Regions from separate parts of the Homo sapiens genome. Here regions 1, 2 and 3 are each linked to region 4. The links are contacts of gene promoters, found by promoter capture Hi-C in human tissues and cell types (Jung and others, 2019). All regions are on one chromosome and are shown on one strand. The core of a region is centred on a gene start or on the middle of the fragment in contact, and the rest is flanking DNA. Distances in the headings are between cores, read along the strand shown.

Region 1 (5,199 bases), core at 2,420-4,919, 690 kb before region 4:
TCAGAGCCAGGGTTCGAGGCACTGTTGTTATCGGTGGTGTTTTCGGAAGAAGATTCAGTGTCTTTGCTGGCAATACAAGGCCACTCTTCCATGTCAGACCCGTCTACAATCACCTTGTCCCAGATGTGAATTGGGTTGGGGGAGGTGCCGTTGTTGGAGGAGGCTCCCGAGCCCCAAGTGGAATTTGCATAATTTGAAGCAGCAGCACCTCCAAGGGTTGAGTCTGGGGAACAGATCATCTTATTAATCACAGCTTCAAATGCATTCATTACCCATTAATCCCTCAAAGGGGCTCTCCTTTGAGCTCTGCCCTTAGGAGAGCTGATCACATGCCAGTTTCTCTCAACCCAGTTGCTTGTATCACAACTGTCTTAGTCATCTCTTTTTTTTCATTTGCCTTGTGTTACACCGGTTAAGTCTAACTTCATCTCTCTCAAAGCTACGTCCTTTGCCATTCCTATTGACAGAGAAGGGCCTTCTTGTATCTTGGGACAAGGCAATAGCAATGGCACTCTAAACTTGCTCTGTATCTTCAACCTACTCTAAACACCCCTGGCTGGAGCAATCTTTCTAAAGCACACTTTTGATTATATCACTGCTGTATGGAGAACCTTCAACAGTTCCTTAGTGCACAAGAATAAAGCTGAACTCCTTGGCCTCGAATGTCATCAAGATGTTCCATGACCTGGGACCAACCAACTTTTCTAGTCTTATCTTCTACTACCTCCTATGTAGATGTCAATATTCGATACTACTTGACATTCCACAACTTGTGCCTTCTCACTCTGGCACCATTTCACGTTGGCACCTACTGTGTTTTCCTGCTGAATTCACACAGTGAAATTTACTCATCCTTCTGGGCCCAATTCAAGTGTCATTTCATCTGCGAAGCTGTTTTCAAGCTCATCACCTGAAAATAATCTTTCCCTGTCTAGAGCCATTTTGCTCAGTGCTGTGGCACCATGTTCACAACTTTCCTTCCCCATGTTAGCGTCTTTTAGGCAGAGACCCTAACTTGCTAACGTTAGAATTCCACACAGCAGCCAGCACAATGCTGCGGAGTAAGCATCTGCTGAATGATGAATACCCACTGAGCCACTGAGCTAGGTGCCCAGGGTGGCAGGGGTGTCACATGAGTATGAATTAGGCAGAGTTCACAACCCCAAGGAACTTAATCTGTTAAATGAGTCTGGCTCACCATATATTTTGGTGGAATTTACCATATTTGGTGGGAAAAACATGTTTTTAATGAGATCATTTCTTCTAAATTTATTTTGGCTTCTTTAACCAGGCAGCTTTTAATCAATTTGAAGTTTCAAAAAGTATTATACGGAGGCATAGAAAAATAAAAAGCATAGAAACCGAAACTCGAGATTTAGGGGCCTCCTCCGTTTTAATAATGTGGACTCTGACTCACACTGGACCCCAGTCTCCACCTAGGCCTGGCTACACTCGGCTGCAGAAACTCCGCCTGACAGGGCCTGCCCCTTCACATGCTTCCTTTTGCAGCTGGTTTGGAGAGCCAGGAAGGAAAGGCCATGGGTAGGGCTTATCTCTGCAGGAAGTCTGTGTCACCACGAGGTTTCTTTCCATCCTTACTCTGCACACAGCAAGATGGTGACCAAATTTTCTAGGCAATTATTTGTTTAAACTCAGAACTCAAATAAAGCATCCTACTGGTGACAACCATCAATTCATTATCTTTGCCAATGCCTAATGGTATTCAAGCTCTGAATTTTAATATCACCCCAAAAGACATTTTAAGTTGAAATCTGTTAATAAACTTTAAAAGATATTTAGAATTTCTTAGCTGTTAGTTGACTTAGTATTCATCTATTAAAAACTCTCACAACTTTTTTTTTTTTTTTTTTAAGACGGAGTCTGGCTCTGTCACCCAGGCTGGAGTGCAATGGCGCGACCTCGGCTCACTGCAAGCTCCGCCTCCTGGGTTGACGCCATTCTCCTGCCTCAGCCTCCCGAGTAGCTGGGACTACAGGAGCCCGCCACCATGCCTGGCTAATTTTTTTATATTTTTAGTAGAGACAGGGTTTCACCATGTTAGCCAGGGTGGTCTCGATCTCCTGACCTGGTGATCCACCCGCCTCGGCCTCCCAAAGTGCTGGGATTACAGGCGTGAGCCACCGTGCCCGGCCAAAAACTCTCAAAACTTCTAGTAGAACCTTTCAGCTAAATATCCCTTATTTCTACATACAGTTTTTAACAAAGCTCAAAATCCAGGGCCCACAAAAAGAAATACTGAGTTTAAAAATCTAATTTAAAAACTATAGTATTATTTTAGAATCCTCCGAAGATTCTATATTGCAATGTAGCAAATCATTTTCTCTATCCTCCTAGCATTCTGGAAACATAACACAGGCATCTAAAGATTCGCCTTCGCACAAGCCCCATGTCCAATTATGCCCTGAACACATATGACGGTGGAACTATGGAGGCTCAAATTTGTAACACTCTAGTCTGAGAAGGAAAAAAGGCCCCCAAAATAATAAGCAACAGCAGTTAAGTTAGCCCTTATGCCAAGAGCACACACTTACGGAACACTAAACCTCAGTTCCAAGAATCACCAATACACATCGCATACTAGGATCCTCTCTCATCTTTTGACTAATCCCAGTGGTTTATATAATGAATGGCTTTCCTGGACTTTACATCAAGCAATGCAAACAAAGTGCTCTCTCTCTGTCAAGCTGCCATGCATTCGATTCACAGGGTGCCTTACCTGGCGCAGTCCCACTCTCACTCTGCAGCAGCGCTCCTGTCACTTGTGCGTTGTTTGGGTTTGCTCCAGGTGCTGTGCAGGGAGGAGGCCCTGCCCCACCCCCAAGGAGCATGCAGGACGGTGGAGGGGGCTGCCCACGTTTTAGTAACACTTTGTGGTCCTGCTGGCAACGGAATCGCGGCGGCACCTCCCGAGGCATGTAGCGGGCGGCGCTTGGCGGTTGTCCGTTCGGCACTGCCACCCTTTTGGCATTGTTGCCACCATTGACTGGTGGCGATGGAGAGCTGCCAATTGGGCTGGCGGCCGTTGGTTGGCTTAAACTTGGTTTCGTCACTTCGGGCACTAAAAGAGAGGGGTTGGGAAACAGTCTTTGAAATACATCAAATACATTTTTTCTAAAAATTTTAAAAATAATTTTATTATTTTATTTAGAGATGGGGTCTTGCCATGTTGCCCATGCTGGTCTTGAACTCGGGCTCAAGGGACTCTCCCACCTTGGCTTTCCAAAGTGCTAGAATTACAAGAGTGAGCCACTGTGCCTGGCCAAGATTATTATTTATTTATTTATTTATTTATTTTTGAGACGGAGTCTCACACTGTCACCCAGTGTGAGTGTCGCCCAGGCTGGAGTGCAGTGGTGCAATCTCCGCTCACTGCAACCTCCGCCTCCCAGGTTCAAGCAATTCTCCTGCCTCAGCCTCCCAAGTAGCTCGGATTACAGGCGCCCACCACCAAAACCAGCTAATTTTTTGTATTTTTAGTACAGACAGGTTTTCACTATGTTGACCAGGCTGGTCTTGAACTCCTGACCTCATGATCCGCCTGCCTTGGCCTCCCAAAGTGTTGAGATTACAGGCATGAGCCACTGCACCCAGCCTATTTTTTATTTTTTTGAGATGAGGTCTTGCTGTATAACTCGGGCTGGAGTGCAGTGATCTTGGCTTGCTGCAACTTCTACCTCCAGGGCTCAAGTGATCCTCCCACCTCAGCCTCTTGAGTAGCTGGGACTACAATGCATACACCACTATGCCCAACTAATTTTTTTTTCCTCCTCTAGAGACAGGGTTTTGCCATGTTGCCTACCTAGACTGGTCTCGAACTCCTGAACTCAAGCTATTTACCCACCTCGGCCTCCCAAAGTGCTGGGATTACAGGTGTGAGCCACCACACCCAGACCCTGGCTAAGATTATTTGTAAGAAAGCTTACATGGTACCAATTCTAACAAAGTAACTTCTCCTTTTACTCTACTCTCAAGGGAAACAGTTTTTCCAAATTCTCCACAATCTCTCCAGTTTGCTGAAGGTAGGATGAAGGTGGCGGCTGACAGTGACAAGAATTTAAACACAGCAAGGTCATGGAATACATTCCATTAATTAAGGCGGAGAGGGAAGCAATCAACATTCACTCCCCTAAATCAACAGTGGAATTAATTCCCTGAAGTGCTGCCTAGAAGAGTTAAATGTCCATGGCAAAGTCCTTGGGAAAGGTTTCAAGCCTCAGTCCAAGGGTCCCTTCCCTTCATCCACATTCTTAAAAGATCTACCCCTGAGTAAACTTTATTGAAGCCCCTGGCCTAGATGGGCTAAACATTCTTCCTAAGTGCTCCTGGAACACATCATCCATCTCTCTCTACCATGAAAATTCTCCATTCAAAAATCCATCTATCTCTACCACCGAAATTCTCCATCTACAAGTCCCATCTCTCTCTATCACAGAAATTCTCCATTTACAAGTCCTTCTCCCTCACCAGGCCATGACTTCCTGAGGGCAAGGACCCATCTTTCATCTTTTCTTTCTTCCTTAGGGCATGGCACAGAGTGGACTCTTACAAGAAACTCCAGGCCTAGAAAATCACAAACTCAGCTTGGTTCTGGTTTCTACAGCTACCTGGACTCAAAGACTTGCACCGCTCTCTGTGTAAATACTAGAAATGTTACAAATCTTTTTGCTTTTCTTTAAAAAAAAAAAAAAGTGTTTCTTCCCAATTCTTTAAAATAGAAATTTCAAAATGTAAATACTTTTTCTGTTTACTTTAAATCATTTGATTTTTTTAAACTTAATTTTAAAAATGGCCCGCACACAGCGTGGGAATGTCGGGGCAACCGTGAAACCGCACTCTGCCGGACCCTCTGGCTCTTCCCGTCGAACATACAGAGAAGGCTCTCTTAGATCTGTACCTCCCTCGCTGCATGCTGCCAGAAGATCACTACCCTCTCCATAAAAATCTACCTGGCAAATAGAGGCTGGAAGTCGTACAGAAATAATCATCAAGCCTGACAGTTCGGATGATTCTGAGGCCCAAATCCCTGCCTCCCAGGGTAACGTCAGGGCCAACTCTGGGGGTAGTACTGCTTTGACTGCTAAAATGATGCGGGGCCAGCATGTTGCTTGCTGAACTGGCTCCTTTATGAGAGAGATACATCATCAGAAATCAGGCGGCCCAATCTATGCCACTACTGGA
Region 2 (5,063 bases), core at 878-3,377, 550 kb before region 4:
AAATAAAATTTGTAATAGAAAAACACCTAAAAATTATCAGTGACTGCCTCTGTGCAGCAGGAACAGGGGACCAGCTTTGACTCCTGACTTTATATACTTCTGATTTTTTATAAGCCTATAGTAACTTTCGTAACAAACTTTAAAAGACATAGTATTAGTGTTCTAAAAATAAATTATAAAGTTCTCTGTAGTTCAGTAAAATTGTTTTAAATTAGCATATAGGATTAAAAAGTATACTGAAAAGAAAAAATATTTCTCAATCTTATGTTAGGTTCTAATTTAACTCAATCGAATTTTTACAGTCATGTAAAATGAAATACCCATTCTACTCATCCACAGCCTCTACTGTTCAATTTCTACCCAAACTGTACCTTTCAGTAATTTACTGACCTTGGAACTGCTTTCTTCCGATACTTCTCCCTCATTGGTTTGCATGGGAACAGATTTTGTGCAAAACTCTGCAGAAACACAAAAATACTGCCTAAAAGAAGAGAGAAGAAAAAAGTATGTAAGGAATTCAGGGCAAAAAAATTTTTTTTTCAAAGGTTTAGACTGAAATTCTCTCAATAAGGCCACAGATACTGTGAAGTAACTTTGAGTAACTTTGTGTGTGTGTGTGTGTCTATGCACATGCATCTTAAAGGTAAGAAAGGGAGGGAGAGAAGCAGGGAGGGAATGTTTCCCATCTTGGGGGAGAAGGGTAGATAGGAAAGGTTTCCAGCATTGGGATATTAATAGCTCTAGATTTCTTTCCCTATTTTATTTGGCTTTTGGCAGAGGTGGTGGTGAAATTCTTACAGCAGACACTGACCTGCAAGAAAGTATGGCAGTGAGCAAAGCGGCGCACCTGTTGTTCCGCCCCTGCAGGTCACAGTGCCTGGGTATTAGGCTAAGGCTATTGGAATTGGCAGGGTTTCCCGGGCTTATAATTTATGAATAACGTTCCTGCTTTCTTTATAACTGAAATTAAAGTACACTATAATGGCTGGCCCCACTTTTCATTTTTAGGAAATGTGCTTAATAAACTAAATGTCAGTTCATTTATTTTTATATGAGACTATTTATAGGGCAAGACAGTAAAAAGTAATTAAGTTTTCCTCAAAGAATAAAATGAGTCAAGAAAAAGTTTGTTAAAATTTTATGAATTAAAATGTACCAAAAGGAAACTACTAAAAATTTATGCAACATTTTCAAGAATTCATTACATATGTAATTATTGAGGAATATTTTTTTTTTTTTTGAGACACAGTCTTGCTGTGTCGCCCAGGCTGCAGTGCAGTGGTGAGAGTTTGGCTCACTGCAACCTCCACCTCCTGGGTTCAAGCGATGCTCCTGCCTCAGTCTCCCAAGTAGCTGGGACTACAGGCGCCTGCCACCACACCCGGCCGATTTTTGTATTTTTAGTAGAGACAGGGTTTCACTATGTTGGATAGACTGGTCTTGAACTCCTGACCTCGTGATCCGACCGCCTCAGACTCCCAAAGTGCTGGGATTACAGGCGTGAGCCACCGCTCCTGGCCCTATTGAGGAATAATTATTCAAATGACACAAATCTCCATTATAATACAGGTATGAATATTTACAAACCTATCAGCTACTCTAAAGCTCATAGCTACAAAACATAAAAACTAAAAAAGGCCAGGTGCAGTGGCTCATGCCTATAATCCCAGCAATTTGGGAGGCTGAGGCAGGTGGATGGCTTGAGCTAACGCGTTCAAGACCAGCCTGGGGGCGAAACCCCACCTCTACCCAAAATACAAAAATTAGCCAGGCGTGGTGACACATGTATGTGGGCCCAGCTACTTGAGAGGCTGAGGTGGGAGGACTGGTTGAGTCCAGGAGGTCAAGGCTGCAGTGAGCTGTGATCACACCACTGCACTCCAGCCTTGGCAACAGAGTGAGACCCTGTCTCAAAAAAAAAAAAAAAAAAAGGTAAAAAGATGCTGGTAGTGTATGTTTTTTGTGTGTGCAAGAAAAATCTATTAATGCACAACGCTTGATGATCTGTTTTGGTGTAGGCTTCTCTATAACCAGCCAAGACTCAAGGCTAAGAAGGCACTTCCAGGAAGCTGTTGCCTCATCTACTGGGTGGGAAGGGGTTACCAAAATATCTACTTTGCTCACCCACCTAGCAAGGTCTTGTTGGGAACAAATGCATATTTATGTGATGTGAAGTGTAAAATCAGTACAGTAGAAGCTCTCAATTGATATCCATTCACTTGCTCCCAGCTTAATCAACATTGCCCATCCTCTCTGTAAAACACATGAGGGATGCTCACAGCAAGTGAAAATAGGCTTTCTCTAGTTGATTTTGTCCCTCACCTATTTATCACAGTTGTGCAAAAAAAAAAAAAAAAAGTTCTCTTTCTATAAAAATTAGGTTGATAGCATTGGAAAAACTCAATAACTTATCCAGAAAGATTTTATGTGTAATTTGCTTCACAGATGTCTTTAAGTTCTCCTACTTCACTGAAACAGAGACTGCATTTCTCTGTTTCATTATAGGCATAGCTGAACCAGATGATGCATTATAGGCATAGCTGAACCAGAAAAACTCCTTGGAACTCCATTCATGCTTGCAGGCCTGTGCTCAGCACACTCCTTGGTCTGGTGCTGTACTGTCTGCTTCCTCCAGACCCACGCTCCATTCTCCGCCTAACTGTGTGCCCCAGGGGACACCATCATTGGGCTCCTTATCTTCTGGCTGCTGGCTGGGCTAAGCCAGTGGGAGGCACTGACTGGAGACAGGAGGTCGGGAGAGGAAGAAGGGATGGCAGTGGTTGTTTCTTCTATGAAAGGGCACTGCTCTCAACTTGCTGGCTTCTCCTTCAGCTTTAATCTTTTTACTTTCATCCTTTCTGGATTCTCCTATTTGGCTGTTCTATTTTTCTTAAGTCTCTTTCTAGCTTGACTTGCCTGGCTAAATTAGTTTTTTCCTTCTCTGACAATCACTGCTATTTCCCGTTACCGACTCCTCCTCCCTATCCCCCAACACTGCACACTGTCATCTCTCCTCCCCCATGCTATCACCCTCTACCCAAGGCTTTAACCAAGACTTCTGCCCCTCCACTCACTTCTTAAAATCCATCGTGTCCCAATAAGATCCTACCAAGGCCCAAGTCTTACCTTCTCTACTACTACAGCCCTCAGTTTTCCAACATGTTAGAATGGAAATAGGGAAACCAACAAAGGCTACTGAACCACCCAGTGGCTGACAACAATTGGGAACCTTACTATTGCTAGACCTGAAGCGGAAGGGGCAGTGACTGGAACCTGGAGGGGGAGCTGTGGCCGTCACTGAAGAGTCCAACAGACCCGAATGCTTACGGATGTGTGACCTTGAGGGAATTTACTCAATTTGTCTCAGTCTCAGCTTCCCTACCAAAACTTGGGAATAGTAGTTATTCTGAGGATTCACTGACAATGTATTTGCACTTGATACATAATAGGTACTTAATAAGTACATGGAGATGACCAACTCACAAGACATTCTCTACTCTGAATTCTTATTCTTTCAGGGTCCGATCCCCAGTGATCTCCATTTCCCTTTGGACATGCTGTGAAAGGGGAATGCTTCTTCCTGGCTCCTGAGTTTCCACCTTTGGCTCCTCTCCACCTGCACACAATCCACTCCAGAGAAGGTAACAGGATCTTACTTTAATGGTGAGTTTGGAAGGAGAAACAACGTAGGTGGAGCTCAGCCCTGTCTTTTCCTTCCTTCTGGAAACCAGCTGCCCCAGGAAGCCTGCATTCTCCTCTTCTCCTCCACCCATAAACACAGGACCCTCACAACTACCCGTGAGTAGGTCAGTCTGTGTTATTATGAAGTTCAGTGTTAAGTTCACTGGCCTGTAGATGTGTCACATTCTCCAATACAGCTTTTTTTTTTAAGCCCGGCCCCTCTGCCCAGTGGCACACATAATAGCAGTGGCAGCGGGAATGGGCGGTCCAATACCGCTTTATTAGTCAGAGAAACAGTATTTTGGTCTCCCAAATGCCCTCCTTTTAAAAAGGAGGGAAAAATGAAAAGTGTAACAATTTCTCGCTGCATATAAGCTTTTAAAAAGGAGGACATTTGGGAGACCAAAATATAGAGAGCCCAGTCAAGGGAAGGAGAGTGCTATTTATTGGGTCTCAAAGACCCTAACTTCTGGTGCGTGGCACCAAAATTTTGATAAATAGACAAGAACTAAAATTCAAGGGAGTAAAATACATGTGGCATTTTTGAGGCTTCTGTTAAGGCCAGGACTTTGGGCCTTGGACTTTAATGAGGGGGCACAGTATTTTCTTGTAGAAGCTTATATTAGGCTTTTTACTGTTGTTTTTATAGTTATACACTAGCTTGTAACTATTGAGGCTGAATTAGAGGTTTATAAACCATAGGCACACAGTATTTTGACCTTAGCAGCGACTGTAGTTATGGCAACTTTGTCTTCACGTAAGTGGCTGTTTCTATAGAGACAAGGCTGCGTACACTAGGCACATAAGCCTTAGCAAAGGGTTGGGGGCTTTGCAGGCCTCATCAAGAAACAAGCCACAGACGGTTGTGGCGGTGGTGGTGATGCTGGTATTGAAAGCTCATTTACATATCAGCTGTGCAGGCAGTCTCAGCATACACTGGCTGCTCTGGCCTAGCAAGCAAATGCCAGCTGTGCTGGCCTCAGCAAAGGGAATAGGGCATTAGTGGGCTTGGGTGGCTTCAGTGTACAGAAGGCTGCTGCTTGACCTTGAATTATGCCGGCACAGCTTTTCCTAAGCAGGCATGGCTGAGGAAAGATTAGACTTCAGGGAAAACAGACTTTCTTCCTACAGGCCTTTTAGACATCAGAAAGTGGAACAATTACTCGCTGCATATAAGCTGCAAAGCAGCTGAATTTCAAATAGCACACATGCATTACAAAACCAGTGAAGTTTTTCCTTTAAATTGCTTGTGCTAGGTTTATATAGGTGATTCAAAAGGAAAATGAAAATTAAGAGGTTTCTGGCTATACAAGGAAGGAAGGAAGGACGGAAGGGAGGGAGGGAGGGAGGAGGGAAAGGAGGAAGGAAGACTGGCATAACCC
Region 3 (4,871 bases), core at 2,066-4,565, 600 kb before region 4:
CTGATTTACACAGATCCACGAAATGTCTGAAGCCAGTCTCCATGCTAGACAAATGTCGATTTGCAACACCACCAGTGAAAACGGTTAGACAAGATCCATATAAATCAATTGGTTAAAAAAAATTGAAAATATTTACCAACCTCATAAAGTGCAGCAGTGCTTAAATCCAGCAAATTGAGGCATACAAGGTAGAAATGGAAATGAAAAAAGGTCCAAAAAATGAATTCTTTTTGTCTATCTGTTTTTTTGTATTTTAAATATTCAGAAACCAGCAGAGACTCTGTCGGCCATTTTGGCTTGAACTAACTCTCTCTCACACACTCTCCCTCTTGCTCTCTCTCTCCCTCTCTGTCTCTAAAGGAAGCAGCTTTTTGTGACCTTCAAATAGAGGCAGATCATGTGACTTCGGGTAGGTTTGTCAATCAGGAAAGGGGAGGGAGCTGGAGCTGAGACTGCCTTAAAGGGGAAGCAGCCCTTTTCCACTCACTTTCATTTGTGAAATGCTGTTATCTCATACTCTCCGCCTACAGACACTGCATGTGAAAGTGGCAACAGCATAAGGGTAACAGATGAACAAAACAGAAAAACCTTTATTGGTTTATAGAAATATGCTCAGTTGCTAACGATTCTTACAGCTCCTGGATCTTCTCCTGGCTCGCTTGCTAGTTATTCTCTAGATGTTTGGGCAAGCACAGGCTGGCAAACTGCTCTGTAAAAGGGGCTGAAACACAGCTCTACCAAACAAGAGGCTTTAGCTTTGAAAGAATGAGGTGAAATACAGGGCACGACTGATCTCTAAGAAACTCCTAAAATGTATAGAAAAAGACTGAAAGAAACGCACAAAAGTATAAACTGAACTGCAATTCAGAAAGGTTAAGTGACTTATCCCAAATCACACAGCTGAACAGCTGCAGAAGAGGGACTGGTTTCCCAATTCTGAACTCTACACTTATTGTTTTGCCTGTATGTGTGTTCAGTACCTCCTCCCCCAAACCCAAATAAAAACTATGCTTCAGCACTGCAAACGGAGTTTCTCTGGGCTAGGGCAGGTCTGAGTCATCTTTAATCCCCTCCCCCACCGCAGGAGGTAGCTCTGCAGCTGAGGGAGCCTAGGCACTAAATTAAAACCTACCTGGTTTCCACCACTCCTAATCCCTTCTCCTTCGCATATACATCTCCACTCCTACCCACTTAAGAAACCCAAGCTCGGTTTGCATCTCCAGCCCCCGCGGCTCACAGGCCGTGTAACTTCACTGCTAACAGCAAGTAAGTAAGTCCCTTACCCATCCTCCCACCCTGCCTGGCCTCCGTTTTCTCATTGGTAGCCGGCGGAGATTGGGCTTCCCTAGATGGTATCTTTGGTTTCTTTCACCTCTGAAACTCTGCACTTGGCTTCTTTGAGTAGTTCTGTTCATCTTTTCCTGGCCATCTCAAAAGTTCGCCTCCACCCTGGGAAGGCTTCTTGACCCTCGCAGTCCAGACCAGGCCCTCCTGTTAACACTCCCATAATATCCTTTACTACTTCTTCAGAGCAATGGTCATAATTGCAATTTATGAAAGAATGTGCTTAACATTAGTCTTCCCCAGGAGACTGTAAACTGTATAAGGAAAAACACCACGTCTTCACTGCTCTGTGAGGCTCCACACCAAACACCACATAGGAGGTAAATAAATGAATAAATCAATGACTTGGACCCTATTCAGAAGGGCTGGGCTGAGTAGGAGGAAATCTGCCACCTGAATATAAAAAATGTAGGGGAATGAGGGTCACATAGTTCCCAGAAACTCGCATTCATCTATGTTTTAAGGACGGCTTCAGGAAAGAAAGTAACTAAAATGGTAAAAAGCGCATGAGGCCGGGTGCGGTGGCTCATACCTGTAATCCCAGCACTTTGGGAGGCCGAGGCAGGCAGATCACCTGAGGTCGGGAGTTCGAGACCAGCCTGACCAGCATGGAGAAACCCCGTCTCTACTAAAAATACAAAATTAGCCAGCGTGGTGGCACATGCCTGTAATCCCAGCTACTAGGGAGGCTGAGCTTAGCAGGAGAATCGCTTGAACCCGGGAGGCGGAGGTTGTGGTGAGCCGAGATCGCGCCATTGCACTCCAGACTGGGCAGCAAGAGTGAAACTCCATCTCAAAAAAAAAAAAAAAAAAAGTGCATGAGAATGCCCTGTGACTATCGACTCCACCTATCTCTATAAGCCAGAAAAGGGAGGATTCCCTAGTGTGCTTCTCCCATAAACTAGGCTGCCATGCCAGCCAGCAGACAACTGATGGATTCTAGAAACCCGGCTTTCCTTGAAAAGGAACCTACGAATGCTTGTAAAATCCCACAACACTTGTTGTCATCCTGGCTTCTGGGTCTTTATACAGTCTCCCGCCTTTGCTCTTTCCACTCAGATATGACGACAGGAAAGGAGCTGTTTCATGGCAGGCAAAGGCCAATGCCTGGACAATCTGGTAGCCTGAATAGCTGTGGCTTAACAAGCTTCCACTGTCTTTGCCTAGCACTGAGTGAAATAGCCAGGCCCTGCACTGACAATTGAGATGCAGGAAAAAGCAGGAAACTACTAGAATGGAAATTCTGATTATTTAGTCTATTTTTATCCTTCCAATACCTTCCAGATGAGTTACTGAAAGCCTACTTGCTTGTAGCTGGCTCGATTTGTAAAAATGTGTGGAGACTGAACATCCACCTTGTTTTAATTTGTGATGGACATGCTTTCTTTATGAAACTGAACTTTGCTAAGTCTCCATTCCCCAGTGTAGAATATTATTGTATACAAATATTTATATGTGTTGCCTTGTAAGTGTTAAATAGCAAACTGCATGAAAAGTTTGGAAACAGAACAAACATATTTTAAATAAAATATTGGTTCTAATTTCAAATAATATGCTGAAAACATATATATATATATTTTGAGACAGAGTCTTGCTCTGTCACCCAGGCTGGAGTGCAGTGGCATGGTATCGGCTCACAGGAACCTCCACCTCCTGGGTTCAAGCGATTCTCCTGTCTCAGCCTCCTGAGTAGCTGGGATTACAGACACATGCCACCATGCCCAGATAATTTTTGTATTTTTAATAGAGACAGGGTTTCACCATGTTGGCCAGGCTGGTCTCGAACTCCTGACCTCGTGATCTGCCCACGTCAGCCTCCCAAAGTGCTGAGATTACAGGCATGAGGCACTGCGCCCGGCCACTGAATATTTTTTCCTTAACCTCCACATCATCTTTTCTATGCAATACCTCTAAATTTAATACAATTAGTCTAATCGTTTATCTAAAACAAACAAGTGCAATAAATACATTATTTCTCCCTTGTGTTTCCAGACATAATAGATTCTGTGATAGATTTATTATACTTTTTTCATATTAACAATTAGACAATATTTTAAAATTATATTATTGTAAGGTAAGGACACAAAGAAATAAATTTTTTTTTTTTTTTTTGAGATGGAGTCTCGCTTTGTCGCCCAGGCTAGAGTGCAGTGGTGCTATCTCGGCTTACTGCAAGCTCCGCCTCCCGGGTTCACGCCATTCTCCTGCCTCAGCCTCCCGAATAGCTGGGACTATAGGTGCCTGCCACCACGCTCGGCTAATTTTTTTGTATTTGTAGTAGAGACGGGGTTTCACTAAATCACCTCGTGATCACCTCGTGATCTGCCGGCCTCAGCCATAAAAATTATTTTCTAAAACTAAAAACAAGAACATTCAAATGACTGTTATCTTTCAAAGCTGGCACCTTTGGAGGTTACATACCATTCCTCAAAATATTTTTATCAGAAAACATGATTGGCCAGGCATGGTGGCTTATACCTGTAATCCCAGCACTTTGGGACGCCGAGGTGGGTGGATCACTTGAGGCCAGGAGTTCGAGACCAGCTTGGCCAACATGGCAAAATCCCGTTTCTACTAAAAATAACAAAAATTAGCTGGGCATGGTGGCACACGCCTGTAGTCCCAACTACTCAGCAGGCTGAGGCTCAAGAATCACTTGAAGCCAGAAGGTGGAGGCTGCAGGTTGCAGTGAGCTGCAGTGAGCAAGGTCGTGCCACTACCCTCCAGCTGGGGCAATAGAGCAAAACTCTGTCTCTAAAAAAAAAAAGAAAAAGAAAAAGAAGAAAACAAGATTGAAAAATAACTGAACTGAGTATTTAACTCAAAAATCTAGAAAAAGGCTGGGCGTGGTGGCTCACGCCTGTAATCACAGCACTCTGGGAGACTGAGCCAGGCAGATCACCTGAGGTCAGGAGTTCAAGACCAGCCTGGCCAACATGGTGAAAACCCAACTCAAAATACAAAATTTAGCTGGGCATGGTGGTACCTGCTGGTAATCCCAGCTACTTGGGAGGCTAAGGCAGGACAATTACTTGAACCTGGGAGATGGTGGTTGCAGTGAGCTAAGATCATGCCACTGCACCCCAGCCTGGACAACAGAATGAGATTCTGTCTCAAAAAAAAAAAAAAAAAAAAAAAAAAAATATATATATATATATATATGTTCAAAAATCTAGAAAAAGAGTTAATAAACCCCAAAAATGAATAAATATAAAAGCAAGGCTGGCCATGGTGTTGACTCATGCCTGTAATCCCAGCACTTTGGGAGGCCAAAGTTAGAGGTTTACTTGAGCCCAAGAGTTTGAGACTGGGCAACAAACATAGTGAGATCTCGCCTCTACAAAAAAATAAAAAAAGTCAGCCAGGCTTGGTGGGGTATGCCTGTGGTCCTAGCTACTCCGGAGGCTGAGCTGAGATCACGCCACTGTACTCCAGCCTTGGTGACAGATTATATATATATCTGTTTTGTTGTTTTTGGCACAGATATAAAGTAACAGCCAAAAAAAAAAAAAAAGAGTAAACTGAAT
Region 4 (4,845 bases), core at 127-2,626:
CTCATGCAGCCTCCAAGGCCCTGCAGGGCTCCCGCCACACCTGCAGCCTCACCTCACTCCTCTCTGCCCCTCAGGGCTCCAACACTGCCTGCAACTCCTCCCTTCTCCAGGCTTCGCTCCTGCCATGCCCTCCTCCTGCCTCCCACTACCCTCTCTACCCAACCAACGCTCTTCCTTATTGAGGAGTCAGCTCTGGCATTGCCCATGTACACCCAGCAAACACTGCCAGAGCACCCACGATGTGCCAAGCACTGTGCCAGGTGCTAGGGTCCCCATCCCAGTCATCTGACAGTACCCCAGGGGAGGCAAATGTTAGATTCAGAATTCCACAGTTAGATGTGACAGTTAGATATGAAGCAGAGGAGGAATCCCAGAGGGCTTCCCTGAGGAGGTGATGCTTAAGCTGGGATTTTAAGGATGTAGCAAAGGATTTGGCCAGGTCCAGGGGGAAGGGAAAAGCTTTTCAGACAGGGGGAAGAGCCAGTGAGAGGACCCTGAGGCTCAGAAGAGCACAGGGGGGAAGCCAAGTGGTGGGAAGTGAGGCTGGGTGGAACACACAGGCCCTGATGGGTTGGATTAGGACTTTGCTCTGCACCTCCAGGACCATAGCAAATCATGACAGTCTTAAGCAGGGGGAACATGAGCCCACTGGAGGCAGCAAGTGGAGGCAGGAGGCCTGGGAAGAGGCTGCTCGGAGGCACAGTAAGGAGAATGAGTCCTGCCCTGTGTGTTGGGATCGGCTGCCCCGCTGCCCACGCCCACAGTTCCTGATCACGGCTCCCATCCTCTGTATGGTCACGGCCCATCAGGTGGCTCCAGAGTCTGACTGATCTGCATTCCCAGCCCAGCACAGGTCTGGGGCCCACACTCAAGGACTTTCTGAGCCAGCCAGCCACTGGACTGACCCCACAGCCACCAGCAACTTCCAGAACCTTCACATCAGCAGAACACCAGGTCCTCATCCATTTGAGGTCTCCCCAGACCCACCCTCTGAGCTCGCTCACCACCACCAAGGCCCAGTGGCCTCACCGCAGACCTCAGGTCTCCCAGCCGGAGCAAGGTGTGAGCAGCAGGACTCAATCCAGCCCCCCACCCTTCAGCCCCTGCAGGGCCCCGATCAGCCGAGGCTGCGGAGGATATGGGTTGCACACCATCTTGATGCACCAGTTCCGGGGGCTGGTGGTCTGTCGCAGGCAGAAGAAGGCAATAGGCGCCAGGTCTGGGTGTGGGACATGAGGATCAGCTCCATCCAGAGGCTCCTCCAGGCCTGGCGGGGAGGATGGGGGGCTCCGGGGTCCGGGCTGCTCCGTGGTGACTCCTGGCTCAGCGGCTGGGGCTGCTGCAGATGAGGAGGGCGGGGAGGCGCTCTCAGCCATGTCCACACTGAGCTGGGAGCCCTGGGGAAGACAGAGAGGGTGGCACGTGGTGGGGACAGGCCTGGTACATGCTCCCCAACCTGCCTCTCCACCAATAAGTGGACGGATGCAGCTCTGACAGCCCCACCTGAGCCCCACAGGCCCCTCACCCTCACTCTTGCATGAGGATTACGAAACAGCTGAGGGCCCAGCTGCACCCAACTTGGAATCTGCTTCCAAGCTGGGTGATCATGGGGCAAGTCTGCTCACCCTGGCTGAGCCTCAGTTTTGGCAAACGAAGATAGTGGGGAGAATAAAGCCTTCTTAGAATATAATTGTGATATTAACTCTTTTTTTTTTGTCTATTGGCAATTTTCTGTATTTGAAATCTTTCATTATTTAAGAGAAAAAATGTTTAAGTAATTATAGACAGAAAAGAAAGACGGAAGGGAGGGAGAGAGGGAGAGAGGGAGGGAGGGAGGGAAGAAAGGAAGGAAGGAAGGAAGGAAGGAAGGAAGGAAGGAAGGGATCTTAACTTTTTTACAAGACTAGAGCTATGTATTTATTGCACCATCAAAGGTAAAGAAAACTTGCAAGAAAAAAGAGGTGATTGTAAAGACAGACATTATTGCCAGGACAATGCAGGTTACAAAGGCAATGTTGGGGTGCTGCAGAATCAGAGACTGGGGGAACGCTGGCAAGCCAGGAGGGAATCACAGTTGGCTTCCCTGAGGAAGTAACCCCTGAGCTGAGACCTACAGCTGAGCCCTTGACCCAGGGACCTCCCAGCCACTGCCTTACAAGGCTGAGAACCCAGGAATCTTAGAGTCTAACCTCCTTGCCTTACAGATGAAGAAACCGAGGCCCAGAGAAGGGACAGGACAGACATGTAGCAGAGTAACAGCAGAAATAGAATTCCAGTCAAAGGCCAGGCACGTGACTCACACCTGTAATCCCAGCACTTTGGGAGGCCAAGGTGGGTGGATCACCTGAGGTCAGGAGTTTGAGGCCAACCTGGCCAACATAGTGAGACCTCATCTGTACTAAAAATACAAAAATTAGCTGGGTGTGGTGGCACACGCTGTAATCTCAGCTACTCGGGAAGCTGAGGCATGAGAATCACTTGAACCCGGGAGGTGGAGGTTGCAGTGAGCCAAGATCACACCACTGCATTCCAGCCTGGGCAACAGAGCAAGACTCTGTCACCAAAAAAAAAAAAAAAAAAGAATTCCGGTCAGAGCCCGCTTCCTGGGTCTGTGGCTCAGGCAGCTGCACAGGGCCCCGTGCTCAGAAGGGCCCTGAACTTGCTTTAGAATTCTTCTGTCACCAACATGAAATTCTTAATTGCTTATCAAGAGGTCCCACATTTTCATTTTGTTCTAGGTGATGCAAATCATCTTGCTGGCTCCGACTCCAACTCAAAGCACTTCTACTCCCTGGCCTTGTCTGATGCTCACAACAACCTCAGGAGGACTATTATGCCCATTTGGCAGGTGAAGAAACTGAGGCCAAGAGAACAAAGCGGGTTGTCAAGGCTATGCACCCAGCCAAGTGAAGCACTAGGTGGTGTTGAGAGGCCAGAATCCCAGCACCAGACCCCCAGGCGGGCTTCATGACAACTGATGGTGCCCTCGCTGGCCGAGAGCCTCCGCAACCAGTCAATGGCAAGATGGGACGGACAGCCACTCCCAGGGCCTGCCCCTCACCACCTCACCCCAAAGGGTACTAGTCCCTAAAACTTTGTCCACTGGGGTCCCTGGGATCCTAGAACCCCTACAGGGCCAGTCTGAGCCGTGGGATTGAGAGATGGGGTCCACGTCCCTGGTGCCCACCCAGCTGCTGCTGGGCTGTCGACCAAGCCACCCGGAGCTGATGCATTTGGACATTTCTCTGGCTCCCGGGGGCAACGGGCAGGGGTTGGCACCTCCTGCCACTTCCCCTGGCTGGTCAGGGAGGCGGAGTTTTCTCCTGAGCTCAGGGCTTTGCTCTTGATTCCAGAAAAACAGCCACGGGCCTTACATAAGCTCCCAGGCACCTTGGCCTGCCACGTGTCAACCTCCTGGGCTGAAACGCACCCTCCCTAGGGTGGTTCCAGCTCTGCCCACCACCGTGCCAGCCTCGGAGCCCACCACTCCCTCCCCTGGCCATTTGCTCTGGCCAGATTGGACCTCCTCAGGTCCTAGGCCCTGCTCCCGCTCTTCCCTCTCACTGGGGCACCTTCTCCTTCCGCCCAGGCCCTGTTCTCCCAGGCCCTACTGATTCATTCATTTGCCCAATGAGCACCTACTATGTGTGGGCACTGTGTGGGCTTCGGGCTATGCTGGGGCACGAGCCAGACTCAGCACCAGCCCCCATTCAGCCCACACTTCCGCAGAGGAGAGAGACACACCGATCAATTAATTTCTCTCTTTCTGCTTTTCCACAACTCTTATCACCATCAAACACGGTGCATAATTTATGTCTTTATATCTCCATGATTTGGTGTCTGTCTCCCCAGCCTAAGAGAAGCCTGTAAGGGAGGTGTATCCCCTCACTGCTGTATCCCCAGCACCTGGAATGGTGCCTGGAGCATACTAGGTGCTCAATCGATATTTGTTGACTCAGTGAATAAAAAGTGCTGGGAAGTAAATAAACAAGGGGAAAGGTGGGAGTGGAGACAATCATCTTGCCCTCTCTAAAGGAAGAGATGTTTAAGTGAAAACCAAGACGCGGGAGGCCGCAGCCCTGACTGATCTGCTGGAAGAGCACAGGAGGAAGAGCACGTGCGAAGGCCAGGAGAATGGGGCCCGCTCGGTGCATTTAAGGAACACAAGCGAGGCCGAGCCTCGGGCAGGGAGGCGGATGAAACCAAAGAGTTCAGCAGGGCCCTGGGGGAGAACACAGAGGAGCGTGGGTTTTATCCCAAGTTCAGTAGAAGCCACAGGTGGGTTTTAGGCAGGGGAGTGGTGTGCTCTGGTCTGTTTCTAAGCCATCTCTCCAGGGGCTGAAGGGAGAGTGGATGAAGGGGAAGGGGTGGAGCAGGAAGGGCTGGGAGGAGCTGGGCTGGCCTGCCCTTGGCTGCTGGTGAAGACAGGGAGAAGGCGGTGGATTGAGATTTATTCTCGAGGTAAAGCACCTGGTCTCGCAGCAACTGCAGTGGCCCACCTGCAACCCTCGCCCCAGCATTACCGAAGTCCTTCCTGAAACCACACAGGTGGAAAGAGCTCCCCCGGCCTCCGGGACTGCACAAAACTACCCACTTCCTGCCTCTGGGCTACGTCGCTTGCACTGACTTGCTTGTTGCCTCTCTTGGCTTGTTTAATGCCGCCACACTGTGCTGCCCTCTGTGCTCACACCTCTCCCCTCACTGTGGTGCTCCCAGAAACCACACCCCTAAGGCCACCACCCTCAACTCTCTCCCCAGTGTCCACCCAGCCTCCACCCTCTGACCTGCTCCCAGCGGCCACCCAGCCTCCACCCTCTGACCTGTTCCAGTGACCACCCAGCCTCC

Evidence for each region. Contacts are between HindIII fragments. The study calls those that stand out against the background at their distance.
Region 1: a fragment that was not itself captured here is called in contact with the fragment with the promoter of CACNA1I in region 4 in 2 of the 25 tissues and cell types used here (dorsolateral prefrontal cortex and lymphoblastoid cells).
Region 2: a fragment that was not itself captured here is called in contact with the fragment with the promoter of CACNA1I in region 4 in 1 of the 25 tissues and cell types used here (adrenal gland).
Region 3: a fragment that was not itself captured here is called in contact with the fragment with the promoter of CACNA1I in region 4 in 2 of the 25 tissues and cell types used here (dorsolateral prefrontal cortex and lymphoblastoid cells).

Annotation. Positions count from the first base shown.
Region 1 is chr22:40,259,712-40,264,910 of GRCh38, reverse strand. TNRC6B (trinucleotide repeat containing adaptor 6B) reads right to left here. Exons shown (of 23, transcript NM_001162501.2): 4 at 2,738-3,079; 5 at 1-223. LOC124905121 (a long non-coding RNA gene) reads left to right here. Exons shown (of 2, transcript XR_007068107.1): 2 at 4,543-5,199. Among named protein-coding and RNA genes, the nearest start is that of ADSL, 84 kb to the left of the region's middle. The HindIII fragment of the contact is 8,779 bases long and covers 1-5,199 here.
Region 2 is chr22:40,121,190-40,126,252 of GRCh38, reverse strand. It overlaps a transcript of TNRC6B not described here. Among named protein-coding and RNA genes, the nearest start is that of TNRC6B, 54 kb to the left of the region's middle. The HindIII fragment of the contact is 5,757 bases long and covers 1-5,005 here.
Region 3 is chr22:40,173,410-40,178,280 of GRCh38, reverse strand. It overlaps TNRC6B (trinucleotide repeat containing adaptor 6B), which reads right to left and starts at 356. Exons shown (of 23, transcript NM_001162501.2): 1 at 141-356. The coding sequence starts at 145. RefSeq lists an enhancer at 468-517. The HindIII fragment of the contact is 5,621 bases long and covers 505-4,871 here.
Region 4 is chr22:39,567,284-39,572,128 of GRCh38, reverse strand. CACNA1I (calcium voltage-gated channel subunit alpha1 I) reads right to left here and starts at 1,376. Exons shown (of 37, transcript NM_021096.4): 1 at 1,141-1,376. The coding sequence starts at 1,376. The HindIII fragment of the contact is 10,754 bases long and covers 1-4,845 here.